Regions from separate parts of the Homo sapiens genome. Here regions 1, 3 and 4 are each linked to region 2. The links are contacts of gene promoters, found by promoter capture Hi-C in human tissues and cell types (Jung and others, 2019). All regions are on one chromosome and are shown on one strand. The core of a region is centred on a gene start or on the middle of the fragment in contact, and the rest is flanking DNA. Distances in the headings are between cores, read along the strand shown. Region 1 overlaps LOC124901820 (translation initiation factor IF-2-like). Region 2 holds the start of CCDC126 (coiled-coil domain containing 126). Region 3 overlaps GSDME (gasdermin E). Region 4 overlaps GSDME (gasdermin E).

Region 1 (3,133 bases), core at 399-2,898, 1.2 Mb before region 2:
TTGAATTTGTGGTGGAAGACATGAGCAGAAACGTGTTCCAGTTGATCCTGGCTGGGTTTGGTGCCATCCTCCATTTCAGGCATCCACTGGGAGTGTTGGAATGCATCCTGTACCCGAAAGTGCCGCTCCCATAAAAATCTCCCATGAGGGAGTCTCCGGGTTCTTTCCTTATCTATCTGCCCGAGGTGTCCATGCTCAGGGCAACCTCAACAACCTGGAGCTGAGCCTCCCCCAGCCTGATTCCTGAAGGAATGAGGACTGTGGTTCTTCCTCCCCACCCACCCCACCCAAAACCTAGAAGTACCTTAGTCAGACTGTTTACCGAGTAGGAAATAAGCTACTATTGTATTTGAGCCATTATAATTTGGGACTTCATTTTAGCAGTTAGCTTACCCTAACAAGGACAGCTGATCATTGTACTTCTCATCCTCTATCCTTATTGTTTATCTGTCTGCCTTTCCCGCTATACTACAAAGCCCACAGACCTGGAGGGCATGAAGCACATTCTCGTTGGTCACCTTATATCCTCAGTACCTAATATGGCACCCAGCACCTAGTAGGTCACTAATAAATATTTGTTAAAAAGATGTTAGGTGCATGGGCTTTACTTCTCTATGCTGGGTATAGCTCACCTGGATACTGGACAATATTTAAAAATAACGATAATCAGATGAAAAAAGTTTGTATATCTCTGGATCATATTATTTTGAATATTTCTGTAAATTGGACATCTGGTGGCTGACTACTGGTATTCATCACAAATTTCCTTAATGCTGATAATAACGTATGTTTCTCCATGAACAATGGACAAACAATACAGAAGTTTTTACTAACTTTGTTTATGTAATGCCACTTTCTTTTATGGCTTTTTTTTTTTTTTTGACACACAGTTTCTGTCACCCAGGCTGGAGTACAGTGGCACGATCACAGCTCACTGCACCCTCAACTTCCCAGGCTCAGGTGATTCTCCTGCATCAGCCTCCCGAGTAGCTGGGACTACAGGTATGCACCATCACACTGGCTAATTTTTTGCATTTTTAGTACAGATGGGGTTTCACCATGTTGGCCAGGCTGCTCTCTAACTCCTGGGCTCAACTGATCTACCCACCTCAGCCTCTCAAAGTGTTGGGAATACAGACAGAAGCCACTGCGCCTATCCTGTAATGCCACTTTCTTTCATGAAAACAAGGGCGGCAGATAGAAGATGTCTGGAAATTCTTTGCTGTTTCTCCCATTGAGAGGTAGAATATACCACCCCTATCTTTGAATCTAGGCTTGTTGTGGAAATTACGTTCTGGGTGTTTAGAGATTATGTCATAAGACTTCTAGCTTCTGCCTTGTTTCTTTTTCTTGAACATTTGCTTTTGGAGCCCTGAGCCTCCACTATAAGAAGTCTGACTTCCCAAAAACCACCATGATGAAGAGGCCACATGTAGGGCTCTGGTTGATAACCCTCAAGTTCAGTCCCACCCTCAAGGCATCCCTGCCAGTGCACTAGACATGAGATGCTATGGTCTGAATGTTTGTGTTCCCCCAAAGCCATATGTTGAAACTTAATCACCAATGTGATAGTTTCAGGAGGTGGGGCCTTTGGGATGTGATTAGGTCATGAGGTGGAACCCTCATCAATGGGATTAGTGCCCTTATAAGAGACTTAGGGACTTGTTTTGTTTGTTCTTCCCTTCCACCAGGTGTGGACACATTGAGAAGTCACTATCTATGAACTAGGAAGCAGGATCTCACCAGACATCGAATCTGCTGATGCCTTCATCTTGGACTTCTCTCTCAGCCTCCAGAACTGTGAGAAATAAAGTCCTGTTGTTTATAAGCCACTCAGTCTATGGTATTTTATTACAGCAAACCGAATGGGCAAAGACATGGGTGAAGTTATCCAGGACCCTCCAAACCAGGCCATTCACCTTCACCAGCTAAATTCCACTGAGTGACCCCAGTCAGTGCACATGGAACAGAAGAGTCACTCAGCTGAGCCCTGCTCAAAGCCCTAACCTACAAAATTGTGAGATATAGTAAAGTGGTTGTTGTTTCAAGCCACTAAGTTTTGGGGTAGTTTGTTATACAGCAGTTGATAATTGGGACAGCAAATTATTTCACATTTCCTTGTTTGTCCAATAATATTTGCATTGAGACTTTTGATTTTGACAATATTGGTTGATCATTTGCTAGCTGCCAAGTAATTTCAGTTCTTCTCCTATCTGTATCCGTGCCTTGCAATTGAATAAGAGAAGGTTGGGACACCAAGAGAAACAGATTTAATTCTGGACCATATTTAACCCTCTATAAAGCTTTTTATTTTAAAGCAGTAATTAGTAATATGCATTGGCAATACAGTCTCCAGTTTAAAAAGCACTTTTGGGATTTAGGGAGGTAAATGAAATCAGTTTTAAAATATATATCAATGTATGCCAAATTTTATTTTAATTTATGTTAGTAGCTATGTTCCTCTGGGAAGCAATCAATATGGTAAAAGGCAAAATTATGCATATGTGAAAAATGTAGTCTTAATTTAAAGGCAACTTTAGCTGAAAAGTAATTAATAAAGGCAAGGAAACTAATTTTTATTGAGTGCTACTATGGGCTGAGTACTTTATATAATCTCATGACAATGTTATAAGTAATTTTTAAATGGGAAGTTATACAATTTGCCTAAAGTCACTCAGCTGGTAAGTGGTAGGCTGGATTCTACCCAAATCTGATGGATCCAAAGTCTGTTTTTCTCTCCTTTGCAGAGGTTATTAATCTGAAAGCGTCCAGGTCTCCAAATGTGGTTCTCAAGGAACTAGGAAGCAATTATGGCAGCCATGCAGAGCTGGTTTATTGGTGTATTCATTTACGAAATAAATCCCGGTAATGAGTTTTATTGACTTTTGCTGCCCTTTGCGTATTTTTCCTTAGCAAGAATCTAGGCATAGGGTAGGAAATACACGACACCCAATAGATGTGTTTCAGAAGTTCTGTAAGTTGAAACATAGTTTATATAACGAATCTTTTTGAAAGCAGATGCTGCTTACCATCATCATTAGGACCACTCCAATTGATCTCCTGTGAGATTTTCTTTCCATAGCCCTCCATTTCCTCAAAGGGGATATATCTATATGGAATAAGAAGATTGGAG
Region 2 (3,162 bases), core at 439-2,938:
CTTCTTTCAAGGTAGTTTGAAAGAATTATATGACCTGAAGCAGGAAGAAACACTAAGAACACAAATGACTAAAAGGGTTTACACAAATTTTGTTTCCACATTTAAAAAAAAACCTCTAAAAACCTTTATCATTGAAAGTCTGAGCTAGAAGAGTCCTTGGAATCAGACCAATTCACTATTTTAGAGATGAGGACATTGAGGACCACAAAGTAATCTCAGGTTACACAGATAGTGACAGAGCAAGGACAAAACTAAGGACTCCTATTTCCGTAGCCATTACTCTCTGTCCTACACTGCACTAAATAACACCAACATAGAAACATTTTCCTCAAAACAAGTATTTTTGCAACACATTTTAGAGTGAGAAATTATTAATCAGTGAGAAGATGCAGACAGATGTAGAAAAAAGTTGACCCAGGTTAAATATGGTGAAGCCCAGAGGCAGGACTGTAAAATACCTGGATGCCTACTCTGACGAAACAAACACTTAGCGCCTCTAAGGATTCCCAAAGGACACACCTGAGGGGGAGGGGAGAGGTGAATACTTGTACCTCTGAAGCTGATCCACAGAAAAGCAGAGTCATCAATTTCCTAAGAACATTCTCAGCCATCTTAAAACAGCAAAAATTAGGAAGACGGCATATTTTAATGAATCCTTTGGTTAGGTTTAAGATAAAGTGAAGAACACACAACCCAGGATGATTAAACAAACAAAAGCACAAAACTCAAGTCCAGAGGCCACTTCGGTCACTTCAGTCATAGCTAATGAAAGTATCACAAAGGATCTTTTCATCAAATGAAGAACTAATGACGTTATAGGTCTATATTCCTAATTCTAACCACTTACAGGTGTGTGTTTTGATGGATGAGAAAACTCAAGCTTAGAGCCTTTAAGTAACCAAGATCACCAAGGCAGGCAGTGAGAGAAACCCAGGCAGGATTCGAACCCTAGCTGGCTGAGCCATTCTCATTACCGTCACAGTCAACAATCAACACGGCAGTTTAAGTTCATCCTTACCAGTCACCCAGGAGATGAGTTTTGAAGAGGGAGTTTAAAAGGGGCATCTGACTTTCTCTCTCTCCCAAAGTAGAAGAGAACTGAGCTGTCAAAAACAGAAAAAGAAGTGAGTGCGGTGCCGCCCGGGATCTACATCCCGCAGCTCCGGACCAAGCCCGCCCCGCTCGACTCGCGCAGCCCCAGCCACGCTCGGCTCTCCGCCCGAGCCGAGGCGCCGCGGCTGTCAGACGCGGAGGGGCAGAGACGCGGCCCAAAGGAAGGGACAAAGAGCCTTCCCGGCCGCGGCCGGAGGCTGCCGGCCCGTTCCTAAGCCGGGTTTCCGCAGCAGCGGCCCTAGCGGGGCGGGGACCGGGGACGGGGGCGCGGCGGGGGAGGAGCGGCCGGCTAGGCTGAGGGGCGCGCGAGAGGTGCGGGCCCGGCTGGCGGACTCGCCCCTTACTCATTACCTGGCCGTGGGCTTCTCGTCACGGTCGCCGCCGCCACGGAGCTTCTGAGCCGGGGCGACGCAGCGAGAGCTAATAAGCGGGCGTCAGCTGCGTCCCACACTGGCGAAGCAGCCTCCAGATCGAGCTGGAGAAACGCCGGTGGGTGGGAGTTGGGACGAGGTTTGTTCCCAGCTTGTGGAGATTTTACTCCGCTCGTCCCTCGCACTCGGCTTCCGCTCCGCCTCCCTGCCGGCCCTTCCCGCACTCGGGGGCCAGCCGCCCGCGGCGCGCGGCATTGTGGGGGATGTAGTCCCAGAATGAGGAAGCGGCGGCACGTGCTTCCAGCCGCCCTGCACCTACCCTGGGTCAGAACGACGCAGCTGCGCGGCAACCAGAGAGGGCGGCGGGGTCTTCTGTGTTGGAAGATGAGCCCGCCAGAGGCATACCCTCGGCCTTAACTCGCTGCAGGCGCTGGAAGAAGGGCTCTGGCGTCTTGTTCCCGACCCTCCGGTGAGGAACCAACCTCCTAATACTATTGACCTGAGGCTGGGAAAGCTTAGTGATGATTAAGTGTGCTACAGATGAGACTACCCATTATTGAAGCCAAAGGTCCTTAGCCAGTGGAGTGAGGCAAGAAAAATAAAAGGATTGAAGATTAAATAGGAAGAAACAAAATTATTTTTTCATAGATTATGTAATTATGTACGTGGAGGCCGGGCGCCGTTGGCTCATGCCTGTAATCCCAGCAGTTTGTGAGGCCAAGACGGGAGGATCACCTGAGGTCGGGAATTCGAGACCAGCCTGGCCAACATGGTGAAACCCCGTCTCTACTACAGATACGAACTTAGCAGGGCGAGGTGGCGGACGCCTGTAATTCCAGCCTCTCGGGGAGCTGAGGCGGGAGAATTGCTTGAACCCAGGAGGCGGAGGTTGCAGTGAGCTGATATCGCGCCACTGCACTCCAGCCTGGGCAACAAGAGCAGAACTCCGTCTCAAAAAAAAAAAAAAATTGTTTGTGGCACTTCAAAACAATCTGCAGATAAACTGTTAACAATAAAAGTTTTTAACAAGGTTAATAGATACAAAAATCATATTTTAAAAAATCAATATTTATTTATATATGCTAGTAAAAAAGATAATTTTTTTAAAGATACCATTTCCAACAGCTCCAAACAAATATCAAGTACCTAGGAATAAATCGATCAAAGAAATGCAAAACCTGCCTGAAGAAAACATTGGAAGACACTGAAGAAGACCTAAATAAAGATGTAACATGTTCATAAATTGGAAGAGTCAATACTGAAAAATGCCAAGTCTCTCCAAACCTACCTACAGAGCCAGTGCAATTCCCAACAAAATCTCAATAAATTTCTGTGTATGTGTGAGAAACTTGACAAGCTAATTCAAAATGTTATGGAAGAGCAAAGACAAGCATTCATGAGGAAGAGGAGGAAGAAAAAAAAAGAAGAGGAGAAGGAGTGGGAGGAGGAAAACTTGTGCTACCGGATAACAAGCTTTATTATAGACTAGGCACGGTGGCCCATGCCTATGATCTCAGCACTTCGGGAGGCTGAGGCAAGTGGATTGCTTGAGCCTGGAGTTCAAGACCAGCCTGGGCAACATGGCAAAACCCCATCTGTACCCCCCAAAAAAATACCAAAGTCAGCCAGTTGTGGTGGCATGCACCTATAGTCCCTGCTACTCAAGAGGCTGGGGGCA
Region 3 (3,186 bases), core at 530-3,029, 1.1 Mb before region 2:
AAGGTATTAGAGACTATAATGTGGACAGAGGCGGAGCAGCCACAGTCTGCGGGTGACTTGGTCACTTTGGCAACAATGTGCAGTGAGCATTCTGCCCCAATTTTGATTTTCCCAGCATTTTACAATCCTGAAGTCATCTACATTACAGCCAAGTGACAGAGAGAGAAAGAGCAGGGCTTATCTCACTGTGTTGGAAGTGGAGGCCCAGGGCACAGGAGTTGAGGTTTCTAGAGATTTCCTGCCCCCGGCTGTGGGCTGAGCATCTCTGATGTGTGGGAAGTTTCTGTTATGAAACGTGGTTGAAATGGGGACTGCTAGTACCTGCGGGGGAGACAGTGGGCGGCTGCTTTCGTTTCCAAGAGGATCCACTTCCTGACTCTGGGAAGCTCTCATGGGATGGAGCAGAAAGACTGCCAGTTCTTTAACAATCAAGCATGCATTAAGCGCCTTCTGTATGCAGGGCCCAGGAAGGTTCAGGAGGGAGAGGCAGATGGGCGCAGAGCTTCGAGGGTGGATGGTGCTGAGCTGCATTCTCACCCAGCCCCTTGGCTTCTGAGTTCTTCGTGCTTCTTGTTGCTTTCTGAAATAAGGATGATGGTCACTTCATATACCAGTTAGGGTGTCTGGTTGCAAAGAACATTTGTTATTATCTCACATAAGAAAACATCTCGAAGAGGGTGCGTCCCGGTTGACTGAATGGTTAACGGCAGAAGGTCAGTTCGGTGGCTCTGTGGGCCCCTGTGGCAGCCGCCATCTGTCCTGGCAGCTCAAGTTCTCTTGGTCCCTAAATGGCAGCCACATTGCAGACAAAAGGTCCAGAGGCAGAAAAGTGGCCTCTTCTTTGTGTCCCTTTTTAAGAGGGAGAAAAACTTGAGAACCCCTAACAGATTTTCCTCAGGTCTCATTGGCCAGAATTGCCCCCGATTCCTGATAAGAAAAACGGAGTGACCAAGAATGGCCGAGAGACAAATCAAGACTCATTGGCAGGGCTGGGTGCACCCTGTCTCTTCCTCCCGTTACAGCCCCCCTAGCTCCCGAACAGTGCTGGGGACGGCAGCTAGTGGCACCCCCGACTCGTAGTGTGGGAGGGTTTTGCAGCCTTCCCGGTACAGGATGCTGGGGACAGTTCCTGCAGAAGCAGCACAGATGTGGTTTGAGCGCTGCTCTCCTGCCTTCGTTGTCAAAAAGCTTACAGTCTTTGAAAAGGGTGAATGGAGCCTCCCTTGGAGGGGAAATCGGCAGATGAAGGAGGCAATGGTGTGTGTGTTCCAGGATTTTAGGGGGGCAGTTACTGAAATAAAACTCTGCCATCTCTGTAGACTGGAGGAGGTTGGTTATCAAGAGAGAAGCAGACTTTCCCACTTAATGAAATGTCACAAAGGCAAAGCCAAGGAGTTTACAGGCAATGTCTGTGGACCTAATTTTCCTACTCTACAGCTGGTGTGTGAACACACGTGTGATCCTTTGTAAACTGTAGTTTTAGCCAATAAATCAAAACCCTTGGGAGAAGTTCTGGATTTACTAAAGCCTTTATCATCAATACATATCTCTGTTTCTGTGGGTTAGTAATTCTTGCTTAATATTCCTTGAGCAGCAGGCTGGCCACCACCTTTTGGCTCTCTGTCATGTCCCCATCTCTGTTTCTGGGGAGATGTTGAAACCAGCTCTGGCAGTACTGCACCATTTCCTCAGTCTGCATTTGTACCTTTCACTTTTTGTTGTTCTTTAGAAGAGTGTAGTGGAAAAGCACACTGGTCTCAGAGTCAGAAGATGCAGTTCCTGATTTTGGCACTGCCACTAACAGGCCATGTGGTTCAGGTGGGCCTGTCACCTCTCTGGGGCACATTCTTCACTAATGAGCAGAGACACTGGGTTAGATCTAGGTGATCAGGGCCATCCCCCTCCCATGTCCAAGCAGACACTGCCACTTAATCACAGCTTTCTTCCTCCTTACTGTCTTCCAGCCCACACTCAGCCTTAGAATCCTTTTCCTACAGCCAGGCAGTAATAGCTGATGGATTAATCAAGGTGAAAATAAAGATGAACCTGAGTTTCTGCCCAGAGCTAGATAATCCCCTTGGGTCCCTTCTAGTTTTATAATTTCTCCACAGCAGACTCAACAAAAGCTCCTGCTCTGTCATGATGTCCCCTGGGGTTTGGAGAGCCTTACCAGGCTCCCCAGGGTTTCCATTGGAAACTCTTCCTCGAGGCCATTGGTTTTTTTTTTTTTTTTTTGAGACGGAGTCTCGCTCTGTCCCCCGGGCTGGAGTGCAGTGGGCGATCTCGGCTCACTGCAAGTTCCACCTCCCGGGTTAACGCCATTCTTCTGCCTCAGCCTCCCGAGTAGCCAGGACTATGCCGGGCTGATTTTTTGTATTTTTAGTAGAGACGGGGTTTCACCATATTAACCAGGATGGTCTCGATCTCCTGACCTCGTGATCCGCCCGCCTCGGCCTCCCAAAGTGCTGGGATAACAGGCGTGAGCCACCGCGCCCGGCCTACCATTGTTACTATCAAGGGTTTTTGTGTAAGAGGACCCTGCTAGTGGTGGCTGCCTTGGCCTCTTCCCTGAGAAACTTGCATCTGGCCTGGTGCCTGGAGCATAGCAGAACTCAGGTATTTGTGGAGATGAATGAAGGAGAGTTGAAGTGTGGGGTCTGCATGACAAAGCTCGCCCTCCTGTGTCTCTGCAGGAGGCATCCCCGGGACCTCCTTTATGCTTTGGTAAAGAAACCTGCTTCCCTCCTTTTGGATATTGTCAGACTTTTAAAAGTTGTCTCTGGGTTTCTCCTCTGTGAGTTTGCATTTTGGCTCTTGAAAGTCTTAGAAGCAGAGAAAATGGAAATTAAAGCTTCAGGCTGGGAGAGGAGGCGGCTTCATTAGGGCTGGGCCTGGGGAGCTGATGGATGCTGGAAGAGCTGGAGCCTCCCTTCCTGCTGGGCTGCTCTGGTCCCCAGCAACCACGCTGGGCTCTGAGCCACGCTTCCCTCCCTCCATCTCTGCCTGCCGCCTCCCAGCAGCTCCTGCCTGGTCTCCTTTTCCAGCCATCTCTCGTCCTGTATCATGTAGCTGCTGTCTTGAATGTATCCGCGTCTTGTATCCAACTCCTGTCCTGTGTCCATGGAGCCATGCTCTTAATTGCTTTGAGGGTCCACTTCCTTAAGGGAGGGGACCACCCCTCATATT
Region 4 (3,215 bases), core at 249-2,748, 1.1 Mb before region 2:
TGTGCATAGCAAAGACATTAGAAGACTATGCAGCATGGCATCATTCCAAGGAGCAGATCAGGTATCACAACTGAAAGATTCCACAGGCCCAGAGGAACATGCATGCTTGTCCACTGACTGCAAAAATGGAACTACTTGAAAATGTGCCAGCATGTGTGTCCTGGGCCAGCTGAGGGTAAAGGCTGGTGGCACAGTCTGGTTATGGAAACAATACGTGCCATTATTCTAATTGTATGCAATGATGAGCAAAACAACAGCTCTGCTTTCAGATCTCAGCTCCTCTTGCAGCAACTGAGTGCTCAGCATTTACTAAGTTAGTCCTTCCCAAGTATTTACAGATTCATCAACTGCAACTGAAGCAAATAAAAAGAAAATCCTGCCAAGCCCATGTTATCTAACTGTTATCTAACCCCTTCTGTGACAAACTCACACTTAGCTGTCCTCCTCCCTGCAGATCAGCTCTAGGACATTTGTATTACCCCCAAGTTCTGCTCTGTTGGTGTTCTAAGAGCAGCAGCCAGAACACATTCGGAGTTCAGAATGGAAGGTATTCTGCTTCTGCACATTCTGCCTTTTGGCACTGCTCAACATAGTCAAAGACCTCCTTTTTCTGTAAAGACCTTCCTGGGTATCTTCACATACCTCCCCTCAGATTTGCAATAGCTCTATTTAAGACATCGAGGTGTCTGCCTCCTGAAGGAATTTGAGCGTCATGTTTCTTTAAGGGATTTACTTAAAACGGCACAAAATCCATCTGCAGCCCTGTCTTTTCTTGTCTAGTAGCCAGGGTAACTTTGAGAGGCTTTCTGAAGGGCTTTTGGGAGTACAGTGCCAGATACACTAACACATTTCCAAGAACTGGTGAAAGGGTGAGTTAGAATCAGTAGAGAATGTTAACTTCACTCCACCACCCTCTGGGTCACCGTTTCCCCCTTATACCTAGAAATGCCTGTGGGCAAAGGGGGTGGTGGATATTTAGAAAAGAAAGCCGAATGCTGCACAGCTCTCATCCACCAGGTGGTAAGGACAGGGAGCCTGCCATGCTGTTGACAGTCTCCAGCCTGCGCCAGTGGGGCTCCTCCTTAATTCACTGGGGTGTGATGCTGTGCTTAAAGAGCAGGTCTAATCTACTCTCTAAAGCACAATCAATAGTTTGCAGTCTGAGCCTAATGGTAACGTTAAGCCTGTGGTTACATTGTGTGAGTTGTATTTGGCGAATCTACAAGGTTCGTGAGGCTGATTTTGATAATAAACCCACAAGTACTTTTACATTCCAGTGAGTGCTACCCTTCAGTCTACCTGGACAAGCTGCATGACTTTCAAGATAGTCACCACTGCTCAGGAAATTTCTGGAATTTTTTCTTTTGGATTCCCTTCAGATTTCTTAAAATTCAGGCAAACTTTCTAGGCTTATTTCATTTTTAATTTAATTTAAAATTTTACTACTTACATTATTAATCAGATCTTGAATGCCTGTTTCAAAATGAAATCTACTGGTAAATTTGTAATTGCTTAAGATTTGTAAAATATTACGGGTACAGATCAAGACCCTAAAAGCAAATCAAATATTTCAAGTATGTGTTGAGCAGTGGAATTAGAGCAGCATCCAAAGTGACCTCGGTGAAGAACACATTGAGTGTCTGTGTTGTAGGCACGGCAGACAAGGTCCCTGCTCTCACGAGCAGCTTAGGGTTAAATAAGGGAAGGTGACTAAACACTATCAAGCAGATTACTTCAGATATAGTAAGTTTATGGATACAACATAATGGAGTAACATAAGGCTGAGTTCTGGGGCTGGGGGTAGCTAGATGGAAAGGGATTGGGAAAGGCCCTCAATGTGGCATTTCAGCTGACAACTGAGTGATGAGAAGGGGAGATCAACAGGGAAATTTGGAAGAAGGAATAACAAGGGAAAAGGTTCTTGAGGCAGGAAGGATAATTAAACTAAACTATGGTACCTACCTTTGAGGAGTTCATGCAAAGATATAAGAAAGTTCTAATATCTTCAGTAAAACAAAAACTAAGCATACTGCATATATGACCAAAGTACATTCTAACCTTTCTAATGTACTGGAGTTAATGGGACTAGTAGAAAGAGTTTGGAGAGTAGGGATTCAGACAGAGGACACTAGACAAATTGGATAGAATCAGGCCTGAGGTCCTGGCCTGGATCAAATATATCATGTTACACCTCAAGGGTTTTCCTGCTCTATTTGGGGAAATTTAAAAAACGACATAGTTGGCCAGGCGTGGTGGCTCATGTCTGTAATCACAGCACTTTGGGAGGCCGAGGTGGGCAGATCACCTGAGGTCAGGAATTTGAGACCAGCCTGGCCAACACGGTGAAACCCCATCTCTACTAAAAATACAAAAATTAGCTGGGCATGGTGGCGCACACCTGTACCAGCTACTCGGGAGGCTGAGGCAAAAGAATCGCTTGAACCTGGGAGCTGGAGGTTGCAGTGAGCCGAGATCACGCCACTGCACTCCAGCCTGGACGACAGAGCAAGACTCCATCTCAAAAAGTTTTTTCCCCCAGAATTACCTACAAGTGCATTACTATCCAATGTGGATTTTTTAGGACATTTTAAAAGTGAATTTGTTTAAATGTGTCATTTCAGCTTCGTGCTCTGTCTGATGATGGAGTATCTGATCTTGAAGACCCAACCTTGACTCCCCTGAAAGATACAGAAAGGTTTGGGATTGTGCAGCGCTTGTTTGCCTCAGCTGACATTAGTCTGGAGAGACTGAAGTCATCTGTGAAAGCTGTCATTCTGAAGGACTCTAAAGTCTTCCCACTGCTTCTTTGTATAACCCTGAATGGACTCTGTGCTTTAGGCAGAGAACATTCATGATGTCATATGTGAACTAGAAGTACGTGTTACTGGCCAAGGCTATTTTTCAGAACTGTTAAAGGTCATATGCACGTTAAAAGTTGACCAATGAAATGAATTTACAGAACAGTTTAAGAAGTGGTGACATTTTGCATGATGAATGACCTGACTTTTAGCCACCAGGTACTCTTTAAACAGTTTTCCTTATCAGAGGCCCTCCTGTGCTGGTGACCCAGCATCTGAGTTAGGTTCCAGCATGTAAAGAGCTGGGAGGGCGGAGAATTCTTAGCATACATTCAGACGTTTTTTCTGCACAATAATAAGTCCATCTGTCACTTGCATTCCACTTTTTGTTACATAGAAAGAGTCTGACCCTTTAAT

What was found. Contacts are between HindIII fragments. The study calls those that stand out against the background at their distance.
Region 1: a contact is called between a fragment that was not itself captured here and the fragment with the promoter of CCDC126 in region 2, in 1 of the 25 tissues and cell types used here (lymphoblastoid cells).
Region 3: a fragment that was not itself captured here is called in contact with the fragment with the promoter of CCDC126 in region 2 in 1 of the 25 tissues and cell types used here (mesenchymal stem cells).
Region 4: a fragment that was not itself captured here is called in contact with the fragment with the promoter of CCDC126 in region 2 in 1 of the 25 tissues and cell types used here (dorsolateral prefrontal cortex).

Annotation. Positions count from the first base shown.
Region 1 is chr7:24,759,998-24,763,130 of GRCh38, reverse strand. The region is part of intron 1 of LOC124901820 (translation initiation factor IF-2-like); the gene reads left to right. It also overlaps a transcript of GSDME not described here. Among named protein-coding and RNA genes, the nearest start is that of GSDME, 4.1 kb to the right of the region's middle. The HindIII fragment of the contact is 6,376 bases long and covers 1-3,133 here.
Region 2 is chr7:23,595,908-23,599,069 of GRCh38, reverse strand. It overlaps CCDC126 (coiled-coil domain containing 126), which reads right to left and starts at 1,688. Exons shown (of 4, transcript NM_138771.4): 1 at 1,465-1,688; 2 at 1,019-1,103. LOC105375187 (a long non-coding RNA gene) reads left to right here and starts at 1,745. Exons shown (of 2, transcript XR_927098.2): 1 at 1,745-1,953. RefSeq lists a silencer at 1,207-1,446. The HindIII fragment of the contact is 2,823 bases long and covers 1-2,478 here.
Region 3 is chr7:24,725,855-24,729,040 of GRCh38, reverse strand. All of the region lies in intron 3 of GSDME (gasdermin E), which reads left to right. Among named protein-coding and RNA genes, the nearest start is that of GSDME, 30 kb to the left of the region's middle. RefSeq lists enhancers at 404-513, 1,384-1,603, 1,924-2,605, 2,606-3,186. The HindIII fragment of the contact is 4,307 bases long and covers 1-3,186 here.
Region 4 is chr7:24,698,666-24,701,880 of GRCh38, reverse strand. GSDME (gasdermin E) reads left to right here. Exons shown (of 10, transcript NM_001127453.2): 10 at 2,622-3,215. The coding sequence ends at 2,855. Among named protein-coding and RNA genes, the nearest start is that of GSDME, 57 kb to the left of the region's middle. RefSeq lists a silencer at 1-91. The HindIII fragment of the contact is 4,995 bases long and covers 1-3,215 here.